Regions from separate parts of the Homo sapiens genome. Here region 2 is linked to region 1. Evidence: promoter capture Hi-C in 16 types of primary human blood cells and fetal thymus (Javierre and others, 2016). All regions are on one chromosome and are shown on one strand. The core of a region is centred on a gene start or on the middle of the fragment in contact, and the rest is flanking DNA. Distances in the headings are between cores, read along the strand shown. Region 1 holds the start of OARD1 (O-acyl-ADP-ribose deacylase 1). Region 2 overlaps SLC35B2 (solute carrier family 35 member B2).

Region 1 (3,167 bases), core at 160-2,659:
AACCTTCACAGGAGTTGGGTTTTGATATGGTAAACGTCTAAACTAGAGGCCATTCTTGGGGAGGAAAATCTTAAAAACATTTGGTTCTTAGGAATCCCCTCTTTACACGCATATTTTATTAAAGTGTAACAGATTAAAAGGTGCTCTAGCCAGGGCAAACCAGGTAAGTGGTTTCCAAAACTCACGTTGATTTAAAAGTTCTTGCACCCCTCCAAATTTCTTCTTAAAGAGGACAGCTATCCCAGCGCCCATGCGACAATCCTCACTGATACAGTGGGCTAAAGAGTCTGTTTTCGGGCATGCAAAAAGGTCTCCTTTCACATAAGTGATCTAAAAAATGTGCAAAGGAAAAGACAATGTTTTATTAGATACAGTAAAATACTAAGCTATTTTTCTGTATTTTGTGTCCCCCACGACTACCTCTCCCGGCACCCCTTCCTCCAATCTGATTTAAAGCCAAACCAATTACAGCATGTGTAAAAGGAAAGTAATGGATGATCCCTGCCTAGAATTTTGAGCCTTTTTAAAGTAAATCAGCTAGAGAGAAAAAAAGATAATGCAATCATTAATTTAATTAAAAAGTGTTTATGCTTTTGACCTCCATTATTACGAATTTCAGTTCACCAATAAGTCAATAGTTGTTACGCACTCTGCTTCCTTCTGGATCTTCATTAAGGCTGCTGGCCATGATACTGAGTCGCTATTTCCAGAATTTAAGTGTTTCTTCAGCTATGAGAAGGGAAAAGGAAGTAAAAATGCTTAGGCAGCCTTAGTATATAATATTCTGATTGCCCTGTACAACCACTTAATAGGCTTTTTTCCCCAACGTTTATCGATGAATGTGAGTTTGTTCGGCCCCTGGGACGTAATACAAAACCCTTCTGGGGCAAAGAGGAAGAACGCTTAGGTTCGGAGGCTGTCTCGACCCGCTCTCATTTCGTGCTTTCCTGGAGCGCCCCGCTCCGTCAGCGGAAGCAAAGCCCATCCCTAAGACACGCCTCCTCCTTTCTCCAGGGCCACTCCGGAGCAAGGCCGATTTAGGACGGTCTCCTTTTCTCTGCACGACGCAAAAGTATTTCCCCAGTGGGTCTGGCTTAGAAGAAAACAGAAGGGACTTGGCCACAGTCCCGTTAAGCCGCAACCACAGAGTGTACAGGGTACTGGCGTGCTGAGCCCCAGGCGTGGGGAAAGGAAGGCGGCCTCTCAAGGAACGTTCACCCCCCACTTTTTTGGGGGGTGCGTGGGAGAAGGAAAGAGTCTATTGAAGCCTCCCATTCTCTGTCTCCTACCCTAGGGCGGGTCAGCGAGGACGCAGTCTGTCCTGGGGTCCTATGGGAGGGTGCGGGGAGGCTCGCTCAAAGCCCCAACGTACCCAAGTCACCCTTCACCTGGAAAGGAGTCGGTTGTTTGGAGGTCCCCGCCCCGCGGGGAAGGGCTCCGGATCCGACCCTGGTAGGTGGGGAGCAGCGGACCAGCCCAAACGCGGAGCCAATCCCGCCAAAGCCCTTAATTGCACGCATCTAAGATGGCCGCCCCCGCCCGGTAGCGGGGCGGAAACGAGCCCCTCTAGCTTGCTAGCCGAGCCCACACTCTTTGGCGAAGGCCGCCGAACTTCCGGCAGTAAATTCCGTGGTTTCCCGCCGCCGCCCGCGCATGCGTAACGAAACTGCCCCACGAGTCGGGAAAAGTGGCGCTTGCGCATTAGCCGCAGGGGTGTGTCCTAGTGGCCACTTGGAAAGGGGTGGGCAGCTGGCAAAGGGGCTAGTTAGCGCCTGCGTAGTACTAAGCTCAAGGCAGCGTTTTGAGTTGAAGGGTCTGGCGCGTCTGGAAAGCGCCTGCGTATTCCTTTCACTGGGGGTGGTGTCAAAGCGGGAAGGTGGGCGTGGCTTCAGGGAACGCCTGCGCGTTGCTCCTCCGAAGGGGTGGGGCGATCCCTGAACTGGAGTTAGTGGGCGTGGCCTCAGAGGCGCCTGCGCGGAGGCGGTTGGAGGGAGGCCCGATTCCCCTTTGTTCGGGTTCGCCATTTTGCTAGGCAGCGGCAGTGGCGGCGGCAGCGGCGGCTGGAGCCTCTGATTGGGTTTCGGAGTCCGGTACTGGAGCCAATCAGCGCGGGCAGCGAACCGGGGGAGCGAGGCACGGTGAGTGTGAGGAGCCAATATCCAGCGGCCCAGAGCCGGCCCCAGCGCCCCGATTGGCGGGTCTCGCTGACCACTCAGGAGAGGCCCAGGCGCCCGTCGAGCCCGGGGAGTCGAGCTGAGCCTAGCCGAGCCGGGCGGCCAGCGGCCCCGGCCCGGGGCCTGCGAGCGCCTCGGGGCACTCCCGGCCGAGGCCTGCAGGGGCCGCCCCGCGCGGGGATGGCGCCTCGGGGAGCAGGCACCTCGGGGCTCCGACCCTCGCAGGGTGCCAGGGCCAGTTGGGAATGCGTCCCTGTTCCCCGACTCAGGCCCAGGTTCTCAGGCCCCAGGCCTGGGGCCACGAATGGCCCTACACTAGGGGACACATGCGCGCCCTGGGCCTCGGCGATTTCCTCCTGGTCGTTCTGGCCGCAAACTTAAACCTGCCCTTGCACTCTCCACTCTCCGGCCCTTGGGACAGGAAGCCTCCCCGGGGCCCGCGCCCCCCGCTCCCCGCTCCCAGCGAGCCGGGTCTGTCTTATCTGCAGCCCCTCTAGGTCGGGAGGGAGGCCTGGGGAGGGTGCGCGCCGCGGCCGCGGGGTCCCGTGTGCGGCTGGCAACGGGGCTGGCCCGCCCACGCCTCGGAGCCCTATGGGCCCGCCCCCGCTGTCTCCCTGGTGGGGAGAGGGGGCCGTTAGTTCGCCCACTCCCCCTGCTCCGCCGCGCCCCTCCTCCCAGCCCGCTCCGCCCGGGTCTCCGGCCCGGCGCCGTTACCACCCCTTTTGGCTCGTCATTTCCTCTCTTCCCCGCCCCGTTCGCAGTGGCAGGACCGCACACCTCCGTCTTGGAGCCCAACCAAGCGGTCTCCGTTTCTTGTCCGGGCTGTAAGACCAGTCCATTCGGTGCCTGGAACCTCACTCTTAGAAGATTGATACCCTTGCGCATTCTTTCCGGAGGCTGCACAACTTGCTGTTCATATTACTAATCTTATCCACTGCTCATTTTGTGAAATCTCCCTCCCTTGGGAATATAGTACAGTTTTGGGGGTTTTTT
Region 2 (2,930 bases), core at 257-2,756, 3.2 Mb after region 1:
GCTAGGGCAAGACTTAAGGGAACTTGTGGGAAGAGTAACTGGAACCTACCTATGCTCTCTTGACCCCAAACTCCCCAAAACCCCTCACTGAGGACTGTCTACCCCCGGGGCTCAGAATAAACTGCTTACTGGAAGATGGGTGACTTAAGGCAAAAGGGAAGGCTGCCTCCTGGGCTCCCCAATCCCCTGCTGCAGAGCTGGTCTGTGATACTGAGAAAACACCTGCATTTTGCCCTTTCAGCCAGCTCCCTCAGAGGTTACAGCAGAAGGGGATGGTGGGAGGGTCCTATTTCACTTCACCCCTCAGGCCCTTTCCACCCTCAAACCTTCTGCACAGGAGACTCAACAGGCACAGCCTTCTTTCCCCGTTGCTTTAGACGGCCCCGCGCGTAGACTCTGAGCAGGAGGGCAGCAAAGACCACAGCCACCCCCAGCCCTCCCACCACAGTGACAGTGTGGCCATAGAGAAGGCAGGAAAGAAGGATGGCAAAGGCCTGGCGGAGGGTCATGATGATGGTGAAGACGGCAGCCCCAAACTGCCCAATGGTGTAAAAGATGAAGAGCTGGCCACATGCGGAGCAGATGGAGAGTAGCAGGGCATGGGCAGCAAACTCACTGTGTCGCCCCATGAAGCGGGTTCCCTCCAGTAGGGCCCCCTGTTCTAGCAGTGAGCCCACTGTGAAGAGGCAGGAGAAGAAATTGACCCCAAACATCATCTGCACCGATGACATCTTATAGGCAAACAGGGCATCCTGCCAGTTTGAGGTGAAGCTGTCAAAAGCAATATAACCTGCCAGTAAGATGAGGCCTGAGAGTGTGGTGGCTGGGGAGCTGCGGGGCTCTGGTCCGCTGGATAGCAGAAACATGCTGACCCCAATGGAGATGAGGGTGGCTGTCAGGTACTCCCAGTGTTCGTAGCTGCGCCGAGACACAAGCTTTCCCATCAGCATGACAGGGATCACCTTAGAGGCCTTGGCCAGCACCTGGGTGGGGAAGCTGACGAACTTAAGAGCTTCGTATTGGCACCAGCTGCTAAGCACATTGGACAGGCTGGCAAAGGAGTACCGGTACATGGGTGCCCCATGCCGGGGCTGCTTGCAGAGAACACAGGAGAGGCCAGCCACAATCAGTGCCAGCACTCGGTTCATTAGCACCAGGAACTGCGAGTCCGTAAAGCGCTCACCCGGTGATGTGGCTGTGGCCCCATAGCTGCGGGTCATCACTCTTTCCTGCAGCACACCCCAAGTCAGATAAGACACCTGTTGGGGAAGGTAGAGACAAAGGAGACAATAAGCAAGATAATGAAAAGGTAGACAAAAATTGACCTCTCTCTCTTCAGGATTATGCCTAAGTGATTCAAAGGAAAATATACACTTTTTGGTTCCTCTGTAGAAGTTTCTTCTCCCCTCCTAAGTCTGGATTCACCTTGTAGGGAATCAACTGTGTGTGAAAAACCTATTCAGGGAGGCAAGAACTCTCAGAATTGGGTATCTGTAGTTCAACATGATATTCAAGGTGGAACTAGTACCCACTGCAAAATGCCATGGGGTCAGCATGTTAGCACTCTCTCACATGCAGTACTGGGGGAAGGCTGAATGGCTCCCCCACAATTTTATCAGTGGGTTTACAGTATGTGAGACACCAGTGCAGGAAGGAAGTATAATAACGGCACAGTAGAAATCACAGAGAATAGGGCAAGAGGAGTCCTCTCTTCTGCACTAGACATCTTGAAATAACAGCATGAACTTTCAGTACCAGTGCTGGAGAGGAGAAAAGGAAGAAACAAAAGGGCATTTCCCCCAAACACCTCAAAGATGGAGGTGCAGTGTGCCCCTGGGAGGAGGACACGAAACACACCAGCCAGCAAAGCTCTGGGACTGGTAAAATGGAAACCTTCACAGAATCCCTGCCCACCGGCATCCAACCCAGGAAGAGAGGCTGAGCCCACCTACCCACCTGGAGCCCTGTGGCACAGAAGAGCAGCTTCAGGGCCTGCCACATCGGGGTGGTCTCTGCCGCCTCTGTTCGGGGCGCCAGGGGAACCTCATCAGAGGCCTTGGGCTCATTGCCAAACACACAAGCTTTCACCAGGGGAAAGCAGAGGCCCCTACCTGAAGAAAGCACACAAAGTCAAGCCCCAAATCTTCTCCATAGCACTTCATCTTCCCCAGAGCAGCCAGCCTGCCCTGCTGTCCGGCCTACCGACCTCCCGCCCTCTCCAAGTCATATCCCGTTTGGACTGCTGGCCAAATACCCTCTTTCCCGACCTAGCTCACTTCCCCGCCCTTTCTTCACACACCGGTCTCCAGGTAGTTCTTCCGCCTGAAGTACTGCACCAGGAGGTAGCCAGGTACCATAAAGCTGGCATAGCCAGCAGCATTCACCACAAATCGGAAGAACCATAGCTGGGTCCATGACTCCGGAGGGGCTTCGGGAGTCTCCCCACCTGCCCCTAGGGAGGGGAACGCAGCCAGCACCACCACTGCCCACCATCTGTAAGGAAAGCGGACATAAGGATTAGGGCGCAGCTCCTCATCCCCTCCGCCCTCCAGAGGGGACCACACTGGAGTAGTGCCCGGAGTCTCCTCCCCGCCCCCTCCGCTGCAGCTCCGGCCCGGACAAAGAGCCTCTCTCTCTCTCTCTCTCTCGGGGAGGGGGTGCGCCGGCGCTGGCCAGGCAGAGCTTCCTCCCTCCCCGGGGGCGGATCCGCCCCTCTGGCCACACAGGTCTCCTCTGTTCCCTCCAACGCTAGCCGGCTGCTCAGGTCAGAGGAAGCGCCCCTTCCCCCACACTCCCCTCCACGATCCGGGACGTCAGGGTCCCCAGCCCCTCCGCCCGAAGCTCCCCAAGGAGCACAAAACCAAGCCGCAGCTCCCATCCCCGCTGGCTCCGGGCAGCGATATGCTGGCCGACGGCCGAGCAGCCGGGAC

The links. Contacts are between HindIII fragments. The CHiCAGO score rates a contact against its expected background, and 5 or more counts as called.
Region 2: a contact is called between a fragment that was not itself captured here and the fragment with the promoter of OARD1 in region 1, in 1 of 17 cell types (total CD4 T cells). The highest score is 7.0, in total CD4 T cells.

Annotation. Positions count from the first base shown.
Region 1 is chr6:41,070,947-41,074,113 of GRCh38, forward strand. OARD1 (O-acyl-ADP-ribose deacylase 1) reads right to left here and starts at 1,410. Exons shown (of 6, transcript NM_001329686.2): 1 at 1,290-1,410; 2 at 650-729; 3 at 186-330. The coding sequence starts at 688. NFYA (nuclear transcription factor Y subunit alpha) reads left to right here and starts at 2,028. Exons shown (of 10, transcript NM_002505.5): 1 at 2,028-2,138. RefSeq lists enhancers at 1,429-1,638, 1,669-1,718 and silencers at 2,099-2,728, 2,759-2,918. The HindIII fragment of the contact is 4,776 bases long and covers 1-3,167 here.
Region 2 is chr6:44,254,386-44,257,315 of GRCh38, forward strand. SLC35B2 (solute carrier family 35 member B2) reads right to left here. Exons shown (of 4, transcript NM_178148.4): 2 at 2,300-2,493; 3 at 1,957-2,111; 4 at 1-1,259. The coding sequence ends at 321. Among named protein-coding and RNA genes, the nearest start is that of MIR4647, 1.6 kb to the left of the region's middle. RefSeq lists enhancers at 587-1,302, 2,732-2,930 and a silencer at 2,822-2,930. The HindIII fragment of the contact is 1,146 bases long and covers 934-2,079 here.